7 separate regions of the Homo sapiens genome follow, and regions 1, 2, 3, 4, 6 and 7 are each linked to region 5. The links are contacts of gene promoters, found by promoter capture Hi-C in blood cells and fetal thymus (Javierre and others, 2016). All regions are on one chromosome and are shown on one strand. The core of a region is centred on a gene start or on the middle of the fragment in contact, and the rest is flanking DNA. Distances in the headings are between cores, read along the strand shown.

The links. The method cuts DNA at HindIII sites, captures the fragments that hold promoters and counts their contacts. A CHiCAGO score of 5 or more calls a contact.
Region 1: a contact is called between a fragment that was not itself captured here and the fragment with the promoter of NFS1 in region 5, in 5 of 17 cell types (total CD8 T cells, naive CD8 T cells, total B cells and 2 more). The highest score is 6.3, in total CD8 T cells.
Region 2: a contact is called between a fragment that was not itself captured here and the fragment with the promoter of NFS1 in region 5, in 1 of 17 cell types (megakaryocytes). The highest score is 5.7, in megakaryocytes.
Region 3: a contact is called between a fragment that was not itself captured here and the fragment with the promoter of NFS1 in region 5, in 2 of 17 cell types (erythroblasts and naive B cells). The highest score is 7.4, in erythroblasts.
Region 4: a contact is called between a fragment that was not itself captured here and the fragment with the promoter of NFS1 in region 5, in 8 of 17 cell types (naive B cells, megakaryocytes, total B cells and 5 more). The highest score is 12.7, in naive B cells.
Region 6: a fragment that was not itself captured here is called in contact with the fragment with the promoter of NFS1 in region 5 in 5 of 17 cell types (megakaryocytes, total B cells, naive CD8 T cells and 2 more); the score reaches 7.8 in megakaryocytes.
Region 7: a fragment that was not itself captured here is called in contact with the fragment with the promoter of NFS1 in region 5 in 1 of 17 cell types (endothelial precursors); the score reaches 7.1 in endothelial precursors.

The regions. Positions count from the first base shown.
Region 1 is chr20:35,841,378-35,844,239 of GRCh38, reverse strand. PHF20 (PHD finger protein 20) reads right to left here. Exons shown (of 18, transcript NM_016436.5): 3 at 1,496-1,667. Among named protein-coding and RNA genes, the nearest start is that of PHF20, 71 kb to the right of the region's middle. The HindIII fragment of the contact is 4,081 bases long and covers 1-2,862 here.
Region 2 is chr20:35,863,245-35,865,966 of GRCh38, reverse strand. PHF20 (PHD finger protein 20) reads right to left here. Exons shown (of 18, transcript NM_016436.5): 6 at 2,567-2,722. Among named protein-coding and RNA genes, the nearest start is that of SCAND1, 90 kb to the left of the region's middle. The HindIII fragment of the contact is 4,740 bases long and covers 1-2,722 here.
Region 3 is chr20:35,501,978-35,505,079 of GRCh38, reverse strand. It overlaps CEP250 (centrosomal protein 250), which reads right to left. Exons shown (of 35, transcript NM_007186.6): 30 at 75-2,690. Among named protein-coding and RNA genes, the nearest start is that of CEP250-AS1, 13 kb to the right of the region's middle. The HindIII fragment of the contact is 9,262 bases long and covers 1-3,102 here.
Region 4 is chr20:35,461,713-35,464,798 of GRCh38, reverse strand. CEP250 (centrosomal protein 250) reads right to left here. Exons shown (of 35, transcript NM_007186.6): 4 at 2,246-2,534; 5 at 1,168-1,224. The coding sequence starts at 2,431. Among named protein-coding and RNA genes, the nearest start is that of CEP250, 7.7 kb to the right of the region's middle. RefSeq lists a silencer at 802-981. The HindIII fragment of the contact is 6,904 bases long and covers 1-3,086 here.
Region 5 is chr20:35,697,676-35,700,685 of GRCh38, reverse strand. NFS1 (NFS1 cysteine desulfurase) reads left to right here and starts at 1,334. Exons shown (of 13, transcript NM_021100.5): 1 at 1,334-1,494; 2 at 2,096-2,205; 3 at 2,886-3,002. The coding sequence starts at 1,398. It overlaps ROMO1 (reactive oxygen species modulator 1), which reads right to left and starts at 1,281. Exons shown (of 3, transcript NM_080748.3): 1 at 1,230-1,281; 2 at 923-1,053. The coding sequence starts at 1,053. RefSeq lists enhancers at 657-876, 448-1,107, 1,108-1,767 and a silencer at 1,367-1,556. The HindIII fragment of the contact is 3,611 bases long and covers 1-2,219 here.
Region 6 is chr20:35,480,820-35,483,796 of GRCh38, reverse strand. All of the region lies in intron 20 of CEP250 (centrosomal protein 250), which reads right to left. It overlaps CEP250-AS1 (CEP250 antisense RNA 1), which reads left to right. Exons shown (of 3, transcript NR_184017.1): 2 at 2,546-2,664. Among named protein-coding and RNA genes, the nearest start is that of CEP250-AS1, 8.7 kb to the left of the region's middle. The HindIII fragment of the contact is 7,692 bases long and covers 1-2,977 here.
Region 7 is chr20:35,931,960-35,934,840 of GRCh38, reverse strand. All of the region lies in intron 15 of PHF20 (PHD finger protein 20), which reads right to left. Among named protein-coding and RNA genes, the nearest start is that of SCAND1, 21 kb to the left of the region's middle. The HindIII fragment of the contact is 6,632 bases long and covers 1-2,881 here.

The sequences.
Region 1 (2,862 bases), core at 177-2,676, 140 kb before region 5:
TCCCAGCTACTCAGGAGGATAAGGCAGGGGAATCGCTTGAACCCAGGAGATGGAGGTTGCAGTGAGGTGAGATCGAGCCACTGCACTCCAGCCTGAGCAACAGAGCAAGACCCCGTCTCAAAAACAAACCAAAAAAACGGCTCTTGAGCTACTTGCTTGAGCCCGCTCCCACTCTGTGGAGTGTACTTTCATTTCAATAAATCTGTGCTTTCACTGCTTAAAACAAAACAAAACAAAAAAACCTTAAAACTAATACTTCATACTGCATTTTGAAGTCAGTAAAAGCTCCAGGCATAGAGATAAAATTTAGAAAAATGGAATACAGTCCAATCAATTCCAAGTTCTTTAAGGGCTTATAAAAGACTCTGCAGGACGAGCTTACACCTATAATCCTAGCACTGTGGGAGACCAAGGCGGGAGGATCACTTGAGCCCGGAGTTCAAGACCAGCCTGGGCAACAATACGAGACACTGTCTCTATAAAAAAATTTAAAAATTAGCCGGGTGTGGTGGGCCCGTGGTCCCAGCTACTTGGGAAGTTGAAGTGGAAAGATCGCTTGAGCCTGGGAGATTGAGGCTGCAGTGAGCCATGATTGCACCACTGCATTCCCGTCTGGGCAACAGAGCAAGACCCTGTCTCAAAAGAAGAAGACCTTGCATATGAGACTTAGTACAACGTTCTACATGGAATGATCACTTTTTTTTTTTTTTTTTTTTTTGAGATGGAATATCACTCTGTCACCCGGGCTGGAGTGGAGTGGCATGATCATCTTGGCTCACTGCAACCTCCGCCTCCTGGGTTCAAGCGATTCTCCTGCCTCAGCCTCCCGAGTAGCTGGTATTACAGGCGCCCGCCACTATATCCAGCTAATTTTTTGTATTTTTAGTAGAGGTGGGGTTTCACCATGTTGGCCAGGCTGGTCTCAAACTCCCGATCTTGTGATTTGCCTGTCTCCGCCTCCCAAAGTGCTGGGATTACAGGTGTGAGCCACCACGCCTGGCCAGAATGATCACTTAACAAAAGACCAGACAGCTTAACAAAAGATCAGAAGATCTACAATGTGCCAGGCAGTGTTCTAGAAGTTAGGGATACAATGCCGTAAAATTGGTCAGGAGTTTGAGACCAGCCTGGCCAAGATGGCAAAACCCCATCTCTACTAAAAATACAAAAATTAGCCAGGGTGGGCACCTGTAATCCCAGCTACTAGGGAGGCTGAGGCACGAGAATCGCTTGAACCCGAGAGGTGGAGACTGCAGTGAGCAGAGACTGCACCACTGCACTCCAGCCTGGGCAACACAGCGAGACTCCGTCTCAAAAAACAAACAAACAAAATTGGGATTCTTCAAGAGCCCCAGGTGTCATAGAGATCTCAGGGTTACAACTATAGGCCTAAATAAGAACTGGTCTCCAGCTGCTACTAACATCAAAGATTGAAACACAAACAGCCCAATGGCTGACCTTGCATACTACAGAACTTCCCAGATTTGTTACTCACAGAAGATCCATCCTCTTCATGCAAGCCCTCTTTCCTCAGCTGTATTTTCTCTAAAGGGCGTAAATAAGGACTGTCCCAGCAGAACCACTCATCATAACGATGGTTCCAACGCTTGAAATGGATGAGTACTTTTCCTTCCTCGTAGTCAATGTCTTCTATGTGAGCTGGATACCTGAGTCAGAAAAAAAAAAATTGGCATTCCTTTAATACCCACCCCAAATATCCAAATATCCATAATGGTACATTTCCAAACCTCTTCCCAAAGGAGAAGGTTACCAGGCCTACCGTTTAGAGACTCTGTGTAGTTGGGTCAAATCACAAATTATGGAGGGTAACAGACTTGAGGTCCAAATCCTAACCTGCATATTCCTTAGTTTATGAACTATTTTATTTTATTTTATTTTTGAGACAGAGTCTCGCTCTGTCACCCAGGCTGGAGTGCAGTGGTGTGATCTTGGCTCACCGCAACCTCCTGGGTTCAAGCAATTCTCCCTGCCTCAGCCTCCCGAGTAGCGGGGATTACAGCGCCCGCCACCATGCCCAGCTAATTTTTGTATTTTTAGTAGAGATGGGGTTTCGCCATGTTGGCCAGGCTGGTCTCGAACTCCCGACCTTAGGTGATCTGCCCGCCTCAACCTCCCAGAGTGCTGAGATTACAAGGGTGAACCACTGTGCCCGGCCAGTTTATGAACCATTAAATTAAACTTTCAGAGCCTGAGTTCCCTCATGTAAAGTGGAAGAAGCACACTGGGTTGTAGTGTGGATTAAACAAGATGACATACACAGAAGACTTGAGCACACAAGAGGCAGGAAGAAAACATTAAGGATTTAACAACTAGATTAGATTTTACATGTGCCAATAAATCAGAATGACCATGCAACCCAGACTGTATCAGACAGTCTCAATTTTAAGCATTTATAAGCAATATAATGGAATACTGTGCAGTTTTTTTGGTTGTTGTTTGTTTGTTTTTTTGAGACAGGGTCTCGCTCTGTCGCTATGCTGGAGGGCAGTGGCGCGATCTCAGCTCTCTGCAACCTCCACCTCCCTGATTCAAGTGATTCTCCTGCCTCAGCTTCCTGAGTATCTGGGACTACAGGTACGTGCCACCACACCCAGCTAATTTTTGTATTTTTAGTAGAAACGGGATTTCACCATGTTGGCCAGGATGGTCTCGATCTCTTGACCTCATGATCCGCCCACCTCAGCCTCCCAAAGTGCTAGCATTACAGGCATGAGCCACCGTGCCCAGCCTTATACTACGCGGTTATTAAAAAGAACAAGATGATTTTATCTGTCAAGATATGGAAAGCTCTTCTAAGATATACAGTTATATGATTCAGAACACTGTATATGCTAAGCTATT
Region 2 (2,722 bases), core at 78-2,577, 170 kb before region 5:
AGAATGCTGGGATTACAGGCATGAACCACCATGCCCGGCCAATTTTTGTATTTTTAGTGGAGACGGGATTTCACCATGTTGGCCAGCCTGGTCTCAAATTCCTGAGCCACCACGCCTGGCCAATTTTGAATTTTTTACTCATCACATAAGAGGGTTTGGTTTTTAAGTGCCAGGCATGGTGGCTCATGCCTGTAATCTCAGCACTTTCAGAGGCCAAGGCAGGATTGCTTGCTTGAGGCCCAGAGATTGAGACAAACCTGGGCAACATAGTGAAACCCTGTCTCTACAAGAAATAAATTAGCTGGGCATGGTGGCATGTGCCTGTAGTCCCAGCTACTCAGGAGGCTGAGATAGGAGCATCGCTTGAGCCTAGGAGGTGGAGAATGGAGTGAGCCACAATCACGCCACTGCACTCCAGCCTAGGTAACAGAGTGAGACCCTGTCAAAAAAAAAAAAAAAAAAAAAAAAACACAACTTAAAAAGTTAATTTAAATACTATTTTATTTAATCCAGTACTTTAAAAAAAATTTTTTTTTTAAACTGGGCTCAGCAACCTTCCTGCCTCAGACTCTGGAATCGCTGGGACTACAAGCACGTGCCACCACTCTCAGCCAATTTTTTCATTTTTTGTAGAGATGAGGTCTCACTATGTTGCCAAGGCTGGTCTCGAACTTCTGGACTCAAGTGATCCTCCCTCATCAGCCTCCCAAAGTGCTGGCATGATTACAGGGATGAGGCACTGCACCCAGCCTCTAAAAACATTTCAACATGGAATCAATTTTTTTTTGTTTTGTCGCCCAAGCTGGAATGCAGTGGCCCGATCTCAGCTCACTGCAACCTCCGCCTCCTGGGTTTCAAGCAATTCTCTTGCCTCAGCCTCCTGAGTAGCTGGGATTACAGGCACCCACCACCAAGCCTGGCTAATTTGTCTTTATATTTTTTCAGTAGAGACGGGGTTTCACCATGTTGGCCAGGCTGGTCTCAAACTCCTAACCTCAAGTAATCCACCCGCCTGGACCTCCCAAACCACTGAGATTACAGGCCCAGCCGTAATCAGTATTTTAAAATCGAGGTGTGTTACATTCTTTTTTTGAACTAAGTATTTGAAATCTAGCATTTACTTACACTTACAGCATATCTCAATTCAGACTAGCTACATTTCAAGTAGTCAATAGCCCCATGCAGCTAGTGGCTACCATACTAGACAGCAGAGGTCTAGGCCCTATTTAGGCCTACAGACAATTGCAGCACCCTCAGCTCTTGAGGGCAAAACCCAGTTACAAGCACTACAGGGAAAGATCCCTTATTTCATATAGAGACAAATCAACCTATTATATAATTTCCTATCTTACAATGAGTACTAATACACTTATGTGAAGTAAGTTAAATTTTTTTCCACAGAAATTAAGTCTGATAGTCTGATTTGATAAGGAAGACTGGCTTTGCATTCTCTACATCGTTAGGGAATAATGAAAAGGTTTGCTCTGTAGTTCCACAGTTTTGATGAAAATATTTGTGTGTGTGTGTGTGTGTGTGTGTGTGTGTGTGTGTGTGTGTGTTTTGAGATGGGGTGTCACTACATTGTCCAGGCTGGTTTGGAATTCTTGGGCTCAAGCAATCCTCCCACCTCAGCCTCCTGAGTAGCTGGGACAACAAACATGCACCAACGCACTCAGCCTTCATGTTTTGTATTTTAAATGTATCCACTGCAGCTATTTAAACTTGTGAGAAAAAGATAAATACTGCTTTAAAACGTGCTAGGGGATTCACAGTTTTTCAACTGAACACATAAAGAATGCACAATCAAGAATGTCTGAAGGTCACTGCACATATTAATCAATGGCAGGCTCAGTCCAGAGAACCGGGGGGGCCTCTTCATGCCATTGAATTGATTTGGAGAACGAGTGTTTGGCTTAGGAAGAAATCAGGGCTTGTTTCATTCTTGGTTATTCTAGAAGAATTCCAAATTTTAAGTTTTTTAATAACTGCATTCTTCCCTAAATCTATACCCTCTAACCTTGACTCTTACCAATTAGCCATCTCGGCTTTTTATTTAGACTGTGAAAATTTCTAATCAATAATCACTCTCCAAGGAGCTCAATTTCAAAATGCACCCATGCTTTTCTAGTTTCAATGTTCCTTTGTCCCCATCTCCTTCAGAAGCCCATACCTTTTTACTATTACTTTTCTTTCATGTCTGTCTCATTAAAACTCTATTTCCTGATTCTAGATTCTATTAAGCTGACTTAAACTGAGATCATTTGAAAAAGCATAAGCAAAAGGCCTCGGTTTATCAGGTTTTATCATATAAGCTGAAGTATCTAGTCAACAGTTAACCACTACTTTAGCAAACTCAGTTATGAACATGCTTCCCAACTTAGATTCACTTGGATATGTACCTCACTTAAATTCAGCTTCATGAACACAACTTGTTTCCAGATCATAAGACAATTCAAAATCAGTCACAAAAATAAACGATTGACGTACACAAGTTACAAAGAACCACAAAGGGCCACAGAAGAATACTCTGGCATTGCCCATTGCAGAGCCCACTTAAAAAACTCACCAGTAGGAGCTATGGAAGGGGGTCTGCCTCGTTTTCTTTTGGGTTCCCTCAAGTTTTCTTGTGGACTCTTCACAATGTCATTTTCAGGTTTCTTATCCACTTGGGCATCTCCAGAATACTCTCTGTCATTTTCGGAAATGTTTTCCTTGTCTTCCT
Region 3 (3,102 bases), core at 521-3,020, 200 kb after region 5:
GGTGGTGGGCAGTCCCTGAGCTCAGCCAGACAGGGGTGTGTCCCCTGGCCCTTACTCCCCATGGAGTGACTTACCTGCAGCCTTTGCTGTTCTGAGTCCCGCTCCAGGACAGAGGCTTGTAGGAACATGGCTACCTCCTGCAGACTGCTGACACTGGCCTTGGTCTGCGCTAGGGAGAGTGCCAAGTCCTGGGCCTTCTCCCTCCACTCAATCTCCCTGGCTTCTGTCTGTCTCAGGGCTGCCTGTAGCCGCTCCAGCTCCCGCTGCAGCCTGGGCTCTAAAGAATCAAGTTTTAGAGATTGTTCCTCCATTGGGGAGGTTTTGTGGCTGTGGGGTAAGGCTTCCAGGTTGTTCCTTTGCTGGGTCTCCCTCAGCTCCAGAATCTCCTGTTCCTTTTGGGCTAGAGTCAGCTGTAGCTCCCTTACACTCTGATGAAGGCCCCTTATCTCCTCCTCTTCTCTCTCTTGCCCCAGATTCTGCTTCTCTTGGATCATATTCTCTTGGACCCTCTGGGCCAGAGACTTCTCCAGCAGCTGCTCCCGTTCCTGCTGATGTCTCAGCTCTTCATCCCTCTGGGCAAGTGCCTGCTGCAGCTGCTGCACATCCTCCTGGTATCGGAGATCCTGGTCCTGGATCTCACCTTCTTGTATCCTCAGAGCCTCCTCCAGCTGCCGACTGTGTGCCTGGCAGGCATCCAGGGAGGCTTGCAGGGTTGCAGTGCTGGCCTCCAGACTGCGGCTCAATTCTGCCTGCTCGAGGAGATGCTGCTCTTTCCCCTGCAGGGCAGCATGAGCCTTGCCAAGGGCCTCCTGCAGAGCCTCAGCCCGGGCCCGGGCAGCCTCCTCCTGATGCCGGGAGGACTGACTTTCTGCCCGCAGAGCTTCCAGCTCCTGGTCCCGTTCCTTGAGCACTGCCTGGGCCTGCAGCCAGCTGTCCTGCAGGGCCCTGGTCTCCACCTCATGCTCCTGTGCCTGCTCAGCACACTGCTGCTGGAGGGCCAACAGAGCTTTCTCCTGTTCCCGAGACTCAGCCCTTAGGTCTCCCAGCACCTCCTCCAGGGCCTGGACCCGCCGTCCCTCCACTGCCAGCTCTTCCTCCAGCCTTCGTGCCTGTTCCTTGTGGTCCTGAAGCTCTCCATGACGCTCCTTCAGTGTCATATGGGCTTGCTCCAGAGCTCCCTGGAGGGCGTCTGCCTTTTCCTTCACCCTCTCCTCCTGTCCCTGGGCCTGCTGCTGTTCTTGCTGCAGAGCCTCCAGTTCCTGGTCCCTCTGGGCTAGGGCTCTCTGGGCCTCATCCAGTTGACTCTGAAGTGACTGCTCCTTCAGCTCCCCTTGTTCCCTGGCTTCCTGCAGTTGCTGCTGCAGGACCACTATTTCCTGCTCTCGCTGGGACAGGAGGAGGCTGGTCTCACCTACCTTCCTGTGCAGGCCCTGGAGCTGCTGCTCCAGCTGGTCTTTGAGCTCCTGGAGTTCATGGATATGCTCCTGCTGACATTCCACCTCCTTCTCCTTATCACGCAGGATCAGCTTCATGTGCTCTAGGCTCCCGCGCTGTGCTTTACTTGGGCCCTTCCCTTCCTCTGCCCGTTCCTGCATCAGCTGCCTCTGAGTGGTCAGCTCCCGGCCTCGCTCTCTCAAGGACAGCTTGATCTGTTCCAGGTCCTCCTCCAGGATCTTGGTCTGCCGGGTCCTCTGATCCTCGAGAACCTGAATCCTCTCCTTCTGCAGCATCAGCTCCTGGTCTCTCCTCTCGAGATCCTGAGTCAGATGCTCTTTCTGCCTCTGCAGCTCCTCGATCTGTTCTCGCTGAGACTTCACCTCCTGGTCCCTCTCCTGCAGCTCTCTTGCCAGAACGGTGCTGTGGCTCTCCAGGTCATGGATCTGGCTGCTTTGTGCCTGCAGCTCCTGGCTCCTTTCTTCTAGGTCCAGCGTAAGGTGGGTCAAAGCCACTCTCTGGGTTTCCCTCTGGCCCTCCAGCTCCTTGATCAGTTTTTGCTGGCACTCCATCTTGTGATGGTTTTCCTCCAGTTCCAGGGCCAGGCATTCCAGAGTAACCAACTGCTTTTTCAGGTCCTGAACCTGTCCTCTCTGGGACTCAATCATTTGGTCTTTCTTCTCAAGTTCTAGAAGCTGATGCTCCAAGACGTTCCTCTGAGTCTCCCGATCCTTCTCGAGCTCTCTGATCTGCTCCCTCTGCACAGTCAGCTTCTGCTCTCGCTCCTGGACGGCCATGGGCAGATGCTCTAAAACAGACCTACACTTCTCTAGCTCCTGAATCTGTTCTTGCTGCAGATCTACCTCTTGGTTCCTCTTCTTCAGGTCCAGAGACAGCAATTCCAAAGCAGCCTTCTGCATTTCCCGTTGCTTCTCCAGTTCCTGGATTTGTCCCCGCAGAGTCTCCACCTCCTCTTCTCTTTCAGCTAGGGTCTGGGTCAGGAGGGCCAAATTCTCTTGCAGAGCCTTCCCTTGGGCCACCTTCAGTTCGCCCTGCTCTTGCAGAGCCTGGGCTCTCTCACGCTCACTCTCTACTTCCTCATTTTTCAGCTTCAGTGCTGAGCGAGCCGTTCTCAGGTCTTCTTCCAGGATGCCAGCAGCACTTGCCTGAGCCCTGGCTTCTACGACAGCTGCTTGCAGGTGTTCCACCTGGGCTGTCAGGTTCTCCTTGGCTGCCTGAAGTAACTCTCGCTCACCCTAGAAGACAAGATGAAAAGCCACTTTAGACTACACTTCCCTGCTACTGTCACCCCAACACCGACCCTTCTCTTTCTTATTTTGTGGCACTAGCAGTGATAAGGACTTGGGCAAAAAAAAGTGGTGGTATATTCCACTTAAGCTGATACTGTAAAAGGGCATCCCTACCACCTTCCAGGACTCTGCTATGCCCAGGGGAGACGCTGGTCCTTCAGGACAAGGGGCAAAAATATCAACCTCAATTCAGAAAAAGCAATTGAAGGAGGATTCATTGGAACCTGAATAATGGCCCCCAGGGACATGGAGACAGCCAGAGGAACTGACAGACTTGCTGAAGGAAGTGGGACACAGGACCACAGGCCAAGGTGGGCCCAAGGGACTACTCCTGAGGCAAACCCCTCCCTGAAACCAG
Region 4 (3,086 bases), core at 509-3,008, 240 kb after region 5:
AGGCACGCACCATCATGCCCGGCTAATTTTTTGTATTTTTAGTAGAGATGGGGTTTCACCATGCTGGCCAGGTTGGTCTTGAACCCCTGACCTTGTGACCCACCCACCATGACCTCCCAAAGTGCTGGGATTACAGGCATGAGCCACTGCGCCTGGCTGACATTTTCAACTTATGATATTTTCAACTTAACAGTGAGTTCGGGCCAGATGCAGTGGCTCACACTTGTAATCCCAGCAGTGGGAGGATTGCTTGAGTCTAAGAATTTGAGACCAGCCTGGGCAACATAGAGAGACCCTGTGTCTACAGAAAATAAAGAAAATTAGCCAGATGTTGAGGCATGTATCTGTAGTCCCAGCTACTTTTTGGGAGGCTGAGGTGGGATGATCGCTTAAGCCCAGGAGGCTGAGGCTGCAGTGACTCATGACTGCACCAGTCCACTCCAGCCTGGGCGACAGAGTAAGTAGGACCCTGTCTCAAAACAACCAACCAACCAAACAAACAAAAACCAACCAAACAAGCAAGCAAAACAACCCCAAACAATGGGTTTATCCAGCTGTAACCCCATCATAACCCAAGGAACATACTGAATGCATATAGCTTTCACATCATCATAAAGTTGAAAACTTGCAACCATCCTAAGTTGGGGAGGACCATCTGTATATGACAGTGCCTCATGCTGCCTGGACTGCATTGAGGGTGCTCAATAAGTTTTGGTTCTTTCCTTCCTCTGAGAGAACTTTTCTGAGGAAAATGTGAGGAGGTACTGAGAGGCAGCTGGAACAAAGGCAAATAAATGGGTTTTTCAAAGCCAGTTCTAATAGCACAGACATCCCTTTGCTGCAGACATGCTGTAGGCTCGCAAAGGCCTGCATCTTTCTAAAAGAAACACTGACACCTGCTGGAGGAAACATGCACTTCTTCCTGCTAATCCCACACTCCTTCCAATCTAATTTACATTTCGTCCTTTGAAAACCAAGGGTTGGAATCTGACAGGCCAGCTAGGTCCAATGAAGATATCAGTGTGATAAACCTCTCAGAGGCTGAGAAAGAGAGCCTTCCACCAAACACCTCACTTGTACACTCCAACCTCCCTCAGTCAACAAATGAAACCTAACAAGTATATTCACTGAGGACCCAGGGGGTGCAGAGAGCTCAGCCTCACTCACTCCAGTGGCTTCTAGCCGCTTCTCCAGCTCTTGGCACCAGCTTCGGTACTGCAGCACCTGCAGCAAAAAGAACAGGCCCTGGGCAATGAACACAGCTGGCACAAACAGCCCAAAGCAAAGGCCCCTGAGGATCTTAGGCAAACTTGCTATGAACAGGGGAAATGGGTGGTGACAGTAAGGTAAGGCCATAACATCTTATAGTTTCTATTTGGGCATTTTTTTCTTTTTTGAGATGGAGTCTCGCTCTGTGTCCCAGGCTGGAGTGCAGTGGCACAATCTTGGCTCACTGCAACCTCCGCTTCCCAGATTGAAGTGATTCTTCTAACTCAGCCTCCCGAGTAGCTGGGATTACAGGCATGCGCCACCACACTCAGCTAATTTTTGTATTTTTAGTAGAGACAGGGTTTTGCCATGTTGGCCAGGCTGGTCTCAAACTCCTGACCTCAGGTGATACACCTGCCTCGGCCTCCCAAAATTCTGGGATTACAGGCATGGGCCACCGTGCCTGGCCTTATTTGGGCATTTAAATAATACTTTCTATATGAGCGAGACTCTGTCTCAAAAATAAATAAATAAATAAATAAATACTTTCTATATGCCTTTTATATCACAGAGGCAAGATCATGGGCTTTGGCTCTAGACTAGCTGAAGAAACCTGGATAATTAACTTAACCCTTGTGAATTTCATCTTTAAAGAGATATATTAGCCAAAAGTGGTGGTGTACACCTGTGGTCCCAGATACTCCAGAGGCTGAGGCAGGAGGACTGCCTGAGCCCAGGAGGTTGAGGCTGCAGCGATCTGTGATCATACCACTGCACTCTAGCCTGGGCAACAGAGCAAAACCCTATCTCAAAAATAAAATTAAATTAAAAGGATATAATACGTACCTCATGGAGCAGTTGTGAGCATCAAAAGAGAAGCTGTACATGAAAGCTAGAAGGTCTGGGTCTTATCTCACCATGCTAGATGTAGGCCACTCCCACCACAAGACTCTGCCTCCTGCAACCCTTATCTCACCTCAGCACCTAGCTCTGGGGGTTGTTCTCTTTCCCCTCCCCAAAAGGGCAGCTGCCTCACCTTGGCCTGCAGCTTCCTCACAAGGGTTGCTTGTCTCTGCTGGGCCTCCTGGGAGTTCTTCAGCTTCCGCCAGGAGGCTGCCTGATTCTCTGCCATCTGCTGCTGTAGTGCCAGCACCTGCTCTTCCAGTACCAGCTGCAGTGACTGGGGCTTCATGTTGTTCAACCCAGGGCTTCTTGTCTCCATGAGGGCACCAGGTGGTAGGCCCACAGGTCCCTAGGTAGCCAGAGGGTGTTCACGCCCAGCAGGGTCTCTAACCATTGCCATGCCACTTCAACCTCCTCTTGAACTGGGGACCAAAGCACATAGTCAAATGGAAAGGACTGTTCTTTTACTACACACAAGACTCCTCAGAACCTTTAAAATACTAAAAGGGACCCTCATCTCTGAAGGGCGCTATGATGAGCATCATTCCCCAAATTTAACTGACCATGAGACAAGCTCACAGGACTAGTGTCTCCTGGCATGACTTTTGGAACTCTGCACTAAACCAAGAGCTCCTGGTTTATCACTGCATCCTTAGTTCCTGGCACAGTGGTTCAGAAACATTTGTTGAATGAATCGCTGAAGGTGTTCTTAGTCTAGCAGGGGAAATAGACACAAACTATTACAATACATACAATGTAGCATGTGAAATAATAAGATAATATGAGAAAACAAAGGAAGAGAACCCAGCCTGGGAGCCTGTGAACTGTGTGAATCATCATCATCATTGTTAACACTTGCTGAGTGCTTCTGGAGGGCTGTTGCTTTAAGTGCTTTACATGCATTACGTCATTTTGTTTTTACAAAAATCTTGAAACCTTCCAATGCCTTCTCATTACACTTCACCAAACGTACT
Region 5 (3,010 bases), core at 85-2,584:
TTCCACTTACTGGATATTATATCTTACTACCTGGGGTGGGTAATGAGAAGGAAAAAGATCCATCTGGGTCTCCAGGGTATTTTTCTGGTGGATGTCGTATTAACTGCCTTCAGTTTGTGGGAGGCAGCAGATGCAGTGTAAAATACATAGAGAAACCAGCTTTTTTGACTGGTGTTGCCTGCAGTTTAAGACCCAATAAAGACATCTGTCTTTTAGTTTCTTGGTGTTAATGATTTTGGAGTAAGGTGGGGGTTCAAGAGTCAGCTCTACAATTTACACATAGTGTCAAGTGTAAAATGGGCATCTCAACATTATTTACAGGATTTTGAAAACTACAGTATTTAGCACAGTGCTTAACATAGAGTAAGTGCTCTGTAAATGATAATTTACAATCTAGGGATATGGCAATAACAGCCTCTAAATGTGAAAATGACCTTTAGAGTGTAAAGTTTAACTGCTTTATCTCTGTATCCTGTATCCAGAATAGTAAAACCGCTGAACGAGTTTCTTTCCTTATGCGCAATTGGAAAAAAAAATAAAAGCAACAGTAGTAACTAGTTACTGAGCACTTAATATGTGCCAGATGCTGTGCAAAGTGTGCTGATCGAATTTTTACAACTCTATAAGTTAGATGCTACTGTCTTCATTCTACACTTAAGGAAACCCAGTCTCCAACTTGCCTAAAGTCACCGAACCAGTAAGAAAAGGGCCAGAAAGCATTTTGACTCTAAAGCTCAAATTCTTAAGCACTGACGCTTCCAACCTGACTTTACAGATTGAAGGTGGTTTGGAATGAGTCTGGCTCGCGAGGGGACAGAGAGGGAAGTCGAAAGAAGGAGGCTGTGTTCAGGCTCCAGGCCGAATGGGGCAGGGCCGGAAGGTCTGGTTGTCCTGCCCAGAGATCACCGCCCGCGCCCCTCACCTGAGACAGGAAAAGGTGCCGAAGAGCGCCCCGGCCGCCATGCCCACGGCGCAACCCATCACGAAGCCCATTTTGACACGGTCGAAGCAGCTTGGCTGGGACTGTCCGTAGGGACCCACGGCCACCGGCATCTGCGGGGGATAGGAAAGTGTGGGCCCAGGCGCTGGCCCAAGAGTCGGGCGGGGACGGAAGCGGTAGGCTGGGAAGTGGGCCCAAGGGCTCAGGGGAAGTAAGGGAAGGAAAATCAGTGGGTAGCCCGACTCCACCACCCTCTTCGCGTTCCGGCCCCGCGTCGCCCGGCGCCTACCTCACCTCGCTCGCGGGCTGGGTCGCTCAGCTCTACGTCTCTCACGGAAAACGACGGGGAGGGCGCTCGCGGCCCGATGAATCGCTTCCGGAGCGCCGGGCAGCACTTCCGGGAGCCTGGGGCCCAGGACTGCAGCGGCTTCGGAAGGTGGGCTCTGCCAGCGGGACCATGCTGCTCCGAGCCGCTTGGAGGCGGGCGGCAGTGGCGGTGACAGCGGCTCCAGGGCCGAAGCCCGCGGCGCCCACTCGGGGGCTGCGCCTGCGCGGTACGCTCGGGTCCCGCTCTCCGGGAGGCGCGGACCTGTCCCCTCCGCGCGGCGACGCAACTGAATATTCCGGAGCCTTCCTGTCCACCCTGCTGCCCAGACCCTCTGACCCTTCTCTCAAATGACACATCCCTCAAACTTTCTTAGGCGGGTCCCCGAACGGTTGACCCCGGCGCACCACCCCTCGCACCCTGCGCGACAGGCCCCCAGAGCCGTGGAGGCGCGTCCTTCAGACCGCTCCTGGCCAAGTTACAGATGCTGCTCCGGGCTCCCGTGCAGACCGTTACCTTCGGTCAGAAGGGACTGCACCTACTCTGGCTCCACGTTCCTTCTAAACGTCTTTGCCCTTTAGAGCCTTCCTTCCTACGATACCATTTGAATATCAACTCAACACCCCCTCCAGGAACCCTCTCTCCCTCTCCCTTACCTCCTTTTACAGCGTGTCAGGTATCTGGTGTTGTTTTCTTTCCATTGAGATTCGACCCTAGCATCCCTTACACTTATCTCACCTCCAGCCAGATTTTTCCTTCTGCCCTTTGGATGCCATGCGTTCATAGTTGCCTTCGGTCTTACTTGGCTACTCCGTTCCATTTTTTATCAGTTGGAGACCGTGCTCCTCAGTCTGCGGTTCCCGCAGATACAGCCGCTGCCCCGGAGGTGGGGCCAGTGCTGCGACCTCTCTATATGGATGTGCAAGCTACAACTCCTCTGGTAAGGATGAAGCTTTTCCCAAGGCTGCTTATAGGAAGTAAATGATGGGCGTGATCACGCAAAGAAATGGCTGAATCCCTGGAGAAGTGAGAGCCGTGAAGGTGTGCTGGAAAAAGCACTGAGCGAGGAGTCGGGAGGCTTAAATTCGAGGCCACTGGCATTGGCTTTACTACTCACTAGCAATTGACCTTGGTCAGATCACTTCAGCGCAGGCTCTATAGTATTAGTTAAAAGCATGGGCTCTGGAATGAGCAGAACGGCCACTTAGTAACTGTGTGAACTTGGACAAGTATTAAACGGGTTAAAAGACTAATGCAAGTTTTCACCAATGTGTGACCAGGGGTGTTTGCCTAGGCCCTGTCCTGTCCCAGCCCCTTATAGATCACATTACCTGGCAGGAATGGAAACACCAGCAGAAACAGATGTCGGAACAAGGCAGTGTTTGTAGACTACCTGAGGGGAGGCAGAACAATCCGAGTTGGGATGGGTTGTGAGTGGGAGTGTATTAGGTTGATATTTGGTGGGTAGTTTTGTGGGAACAAAAGAATGTTTGAGGCCTCCTCTAGGCAGTGCCTGAGGGGTTGAGAGTGTCTTAAGGCAGGGTGGCCAGGTCTGAGGGGTGGAGTGGGACCTGAATTGACGATGCGCTCAAGGAAAATGATCTGTTCTGTTGTGTTCAGGACCCCCGGGTGCTTGATGCCATGCTCCCTTACCTAATCAACTACTATGGGAACCCACACTCCCGGACACATGCTTATGGCTGGGAGAGTGAGGCAGCCATGGAACGTGCTCGTCAGGTTAGTAC
Region 6 (2,977 bases), core at 73-2,572, 220 kb after region 5:
ACAGCATACAAAGAGAAAAGTAAACATGTAAAATGCAAGAGGCAGTGAAGATACATGAAGGATAGAGTAAAAAGGTCTGACATACAACTAACCAGAGTACAGAAAGAGAGAAGAAAGTAGGAAAAGAGCCAGGTATGGTGGCGTGCACCTGTAGTCCCAGCTTATGTGGGAGGCTGAGGCAAGAGGACAGCTTGAGCCCAGGAGTTCGAGACCAGCCTGGATAACATAGCAAGACCCATCTCTAAAAAAAAAAAAAATTAAAATTAAAATTAAAAAATTAGCTGGGCATGGTGGCATGTGCCTGTAGTTGCAGTTCGTCGGAGGCTGCGGCAGGAGGACTCACTTGAGCTCAGGAGTTTGAGGCTGCAGTGAGCTATGATTGTATCATTATACTCCAGCCTGGGTAACAGAGCAAGACCCTGTCTCTAAAAAATAAAATAAAATAAATTTAAAAAAAAAAATTTTTTTTTTTTTTTGAGACGGAGTTTCGTTCTTGTTGCCCAGGCTGGAGTGTAATGGCGCGATCTCAGCTCATCGCAACCTCCACCTCCCAGGTTCAAGCGATTCTCCTGCCTCAGCCTCCCTAATAGCTAGGATTACAGACATGTGCTACCACACTCGGCTAATTTTGTATATTTAGTAGAGACGGGGTTTCTCCATGTTGGTCAGGCTGGTCTCGAACTCCTGACCTCAGGTGATCCGCCCACCTCAGCCTCCCAAATTACTGAGATTACAGGCATGAGCCACTGCAATTGGCCAAAAAAAAATTTATTTTAAAGAGTAAATAAATAAAAGCAGGACAGTAGGAAAGAGGTAATATTGAAGAGATAATATATAAGAATTTTCCAGAATTGATATTTCAACATGAAATCTTAAATTCAGGATGTCTAAGAAATTCCAACCAAATAAAAGAAATACACATCTAAACACAAGAAATTGCCAGGCGTGGTCTCACGCCTTTAATCCCAGCCCTTTGGGAGGCCGAGGTGGGTGGATCACTTGAGCCCAGGAGTTTGAGACCAGCCTGGGCAACATGGTGAAACCCCATCTCTACTAAAAATACAAAAAAATTAGCTGGGCATGGTGGTACGTGCCTGTAATCCCAGCTACTCTAGAGGCTGAGGCAGAAGAACTGCATGAACTCAAGAGGTGGAAGTTACAGTGAGCCGAGATTGCACCACTGCACTCAAGCCTGGGTGACAGAGCAAGACTCTGTCTCAAAAAAATAAAAAATAAAAAAAAATATAAAAAAATAAATAGCCGGGCACGGTGGCTCACGCCTGTAATCCCAGCACTTTGGGAGGCCGAGGCGGGTGGATCATGAGGTCAGGAGATCGAGACCATCCTGGCTAACACGGTGAATACAAAAAATTTTTGTATTTACTAAAAATACAAAAAATTAGCCGGGCATGGTGGTGAGCGCCTGTGGTCTCAGCTACTTGGGAGGCTGAGGCAGGAGAATGGCGTGAACCCAGAGGCGGACCTTGCAGTGAGCCAAGATTGCGCCACTGCACTCCAGCCTGGGCAACAGAGCGAGACTCCGTCTCAAAAAACAAACAAACAAAAAAATAATAATAAACACAAGAAACTGTGGAATGATTAAAATGAAAGCTAACTTCTCAATACCAACAATGTTGAGAGAAAATAATTGTCATCCTAGAAACTTATATCTGAATGTTTTACTTAGTGAATCTATCTATCTATCTATCTATCTATCTATCTATCTATCTATCTATCTATCTATCTATTTTTTAAGCCTGAACAAAGCCAGAAACTATCTTTCAAGAATAAAAGTAGGCTGGACATGGTGGCTCACCTCTGTAATCCCAACACTTTGGGAGGCCAAGGGCGGGTGGATCGCTTGAGCCCAGGAGTTTGAGACCAGCCTGGGCAACATGGTGAAACCCTGTCTCTACCAAAAATAAAATTAGCTGGGTGTGATGGCATATGCCTATAATCCCAGCTACTTGGGAGGCTGAGGTGGGAGGATCACCTGAGCCCAGGAGGCCAAGGCTGCAGTAGGCCATGATCACATGACTGCACTCCAGTCTAGGCGACAGAGTGAGACCCTGCCTCAATAAAAGAATAAAAATAAAATAGAAACATCTTCAGACAATTAACTACCAACAGACCCTTACCAAAGAAAATCCTACTTCAGGCAAAAAAAAAAAAAAAAAATCTGAATAGAAAGTCTGACATGCAAGAAGGTATGGTGAACAGAAAAGGTATCAATTCGTTGTATCTGAACAAATATTGACTGTATAAAACAATAAAAAAATCATAATTTGTGGTGTTAAACTAGTTAGAACTGAACACACTGAACAAAATAGCCTATAAATTAGGGAGCAGTGAAACAAGTAAAATGTTCTTTTTTGCTTTTGAGACAGGGTCTCACTCTGTCACTCAGGCTGGAGTGCAGTGGTGCTCAGCTCACCACAGCCTCAACCTCCTAGGCTCAAGTGATCCTCCCACCTCAGCCTCCCAAGTAGCTGGGACTACAGTGTGTACCACCATGCCTGGCTAATTTTTGTATTTTTTTTTGTAGGGAATGGGGTTTCGCCGTGTTGTCCAGGCTGGTCTCAAACTCCTGGGCTCAAGCAATCTGCCCACCTCAGCCTCCCAAAGTGCTGAGATGACAGGCATGAGCCACTGTCCCTGGCCCAGGTAAAATGTTCTAAGACCCTTGTATCGTTCAGGAAAAGGGTAAAACTACTGAACCTTGAGATTTTATTAAGTATATGTTTAAAAATATTAAAGGTAACCACTAACAGGATTTTTAAAATAAAGTATATATCATCCACAGTTGCAGAGAGAAAAAAGAGGTGAGAAAAGAATACAACTTAATCACCCAACTTAATCCTCTAAAAGAAGTTAAGAAAGGAGATTTCCCCTCCCTAAAAGATATAAAAATGGCCAGGCACAGTGGCTCACAGCTGTACCCTGCACTTTAGGAGGCTGAGGCAGGTGGATCACGAGG
Region 7 (2,881 bases), core at 269-2,768, 230 kb before region 5:
ATCCTATCCAGGGCCGTCATTTGGTTCAGTTCACCTCAACAGATTCTGCCACAGCAACTGCTAATTGCCCCAGCATCCAACCTCTCCTCCTTTTATCCCCACCCCCACCCCTACTTCTAAGTATAAGCAGGGCCTGTGGCCACCTGCCCAGCCTGCCCTGCCATTAGGCCTGTCCATGAAACTATTTGCCCTCCCTCTTCTTTCTCTCTTTTCCCCCTCCTGGGGACTGGGGTAGAGCTGAAATGCAGGTGAAACTGCTTCAACCATGCAAATGGGGGGTATCCCAAGAGAATGCCAGAGCAATAAGACAAAAGGAACCTAAGACCATGCAGATAAGGGGAACCCTAAGAGAATGCTGGAGCCGTAAGACAGAAGGAAACAAAGTTCCCAACCCAACGGATGGAATCCTGGAGAAAGGTCTCCTACCTAGCCTAGATCCCTGCCTAGCCTTGAACCATTCATTTATATGAGAAAGAAACTTCTGTTTTGTTTGAGCCTCTATGTGGGGGGTCCTTGTTATAGCACCTCAGCTTTTACCCAAACCAACGCAGACCCAATGTTCCCTCCTCCACCACCTTTGTCACGCAGATCTTGAAGCCAGGCCTCTGTGTGCCAGAGAGCACAAGAGGAAGCAGATTCCCATCTCACCATCTCAGGGTCCTGATACTCCACTCTGCCTGACACCAGGCCTCCTCTAGGCCTGATCAGCACAAAGGAAATCCTATCCAGGAGCAGCCTATCAAGTCTTAACTCACTCATCGCACTAGTCTGCCACTGTTTACAACTTAAATAAAAGCAGTCCCTGACACAGACTATACTAAAACCAAAAGAAAGCTCACAAGGTCATGCAGTATCACATAGAGAGACAGTTCGAAAAGTACCTGACAGAGCCAGGATTTGGATTCTAGTCCAGGCTCCACCCATGGAAACCATGGAAGAGGCCTACCCCACTCAAGGCCCTGTTGCTGTATTTGGTAAAGTAGGGTAGGTTATAACAGCCAAGAGACCGACCGGGCACAGTGGCCCACGCCTGTTATCACAGCACTTTGGGAGGCCGAGATGGGCAGATCAGTTGAGGCCAGGAGCTCGAGACCAGCCTGGCCAACATGGTGAAACCCCATCTCTACTAAAAATACAAAAATTAGGCCAGGCGCAGTGGCTCATGCCTGTAATCTCAGCACTTTGGGAGGCTGAGGCAGGTGGATCGCAAGGTCAGTAGATCGAGACCATCCTGGCTAACACGGTGAAACACTGTATCTACTAAAAATACAAAAAAATTAGCCGGGCGTGGTGGCAGGCGCCTGTAGTCCCAGCTACTCGGGAGGCTGAGGCAGGAGAATGGCGTGAACCCAGGAGGCAGAGCTTGCAGTAAGCCAAGATCATGCCACTGGACTCCAGCCTGGGTGACAGAGCGAGACTCGGTCTCAAAAAAAAAAAAAAATTATCCAGGTGTGGTGGCATGTGCCTGTAATCCTAGCAACTCAGGAGTTTAAGGCAGGAGAATCGCTTGAACCCAGGAGGTGGAGGTAGCAGTGAGCCAAGATCACGCCACTGCACTCCAGCCTGGGTGACAGAGCGAGGCTCTGTCTCAGAAAAAAAAAAAAAAGAATGAGCTGAGTTGCTTGAGCCCAGGAGCTTGAGGCTGCAGTGCTTGATGATCGCACCTGTGAGTAGCCACTGCACTTCAGCCTGGGAAATAAAGCAAGACTCCATCTCTTGTTAAAAAAAAAAAAAAGGAATATTTAGCATGAAAGGGATAAACAAAATGTGGCATACACATAAAACAAGTTATTACTCAGCCTTAAAAAGGGAGGAAATTCTTACATATGCTATAACACGGATGAACTTTGAGGACACTATGCTAAGTGAAATAAGCCAGTCACAAAAAGACAAACACTATATGACTCCACTTACATGAGGTCTCTAGAGAAGTCAAATTCAGAGAGGCAGAAAGTAGAATACTGGTTGTCAGGGGCTTTGGGGAAAGGGAAATGGAGAGCTGTTGGTAAAGGGTATAGAACTTCAGTTTCACAAGGGTTTTAGAGACTGGTTGTAAAACAACATGAATGACAACTGTGCAGAGCTGTACACTTAAAAATGGTTAAGATGGGGCCGGGTGCAGTGGCTCACACCTGTAATCCCAGAAATTTCGGAGGCCGAGGTGGGTGGATCACCTGAGGTCAGGAGTTTAAGGCCAGCCTGGCCAACATGGTGAAACCCTGTCTCTACTAAAAATACAAAAATTAGCCGGGTGTGGTGGCGTGCGCCTGTATTCCCAGCTACTCAGGAGGCTGAGGCAGGAGAATCACTTGAATCTGGGAGGCAGAAGTTGCAGTGAGCCGAGATCACACCACTGCACTCCAGCCTGGGCGACAGAGCGAGACTCTGTCTCAAAAAAAAAAAAAAAAAAAATGGTTAAGATGGTAAATTTTATATTATGTATATCTTACAGCAATTAAAAACAAATAACTCAGCCAGGTACAGTGGCTCGTGCCTGTAATCCCAGCACTTTGGGAGCCCGAGGTGGGTGGATCACTTGAGGTCAGGAGTTCAAGACCAGCCTGGCCAACATGGTAAAACCCTATATCTACAGAAAACACAAAAAATTAGCCAGGCATGGTGGCATGCGCCTGTAGTCCCAACTACTTGGGAGGCTGAAGTGGGAGAATCGCTTGAACCCAGGAGGTGGAGGCTGCAGTGAGCCATGATCTCACCACTGCACTCCAGCCTGGGTGACAGAGTGAGACTCCATCTCAAAAAAAAAAAAAAACACTCAGAACTGTATGCCAAAACAAAAAACAAACCAAAATACACACACCATGTATTGATTCTGGTGGTGGCTTCACGGCTGCATACAATGTCAAAATTCAATGAACTCTTT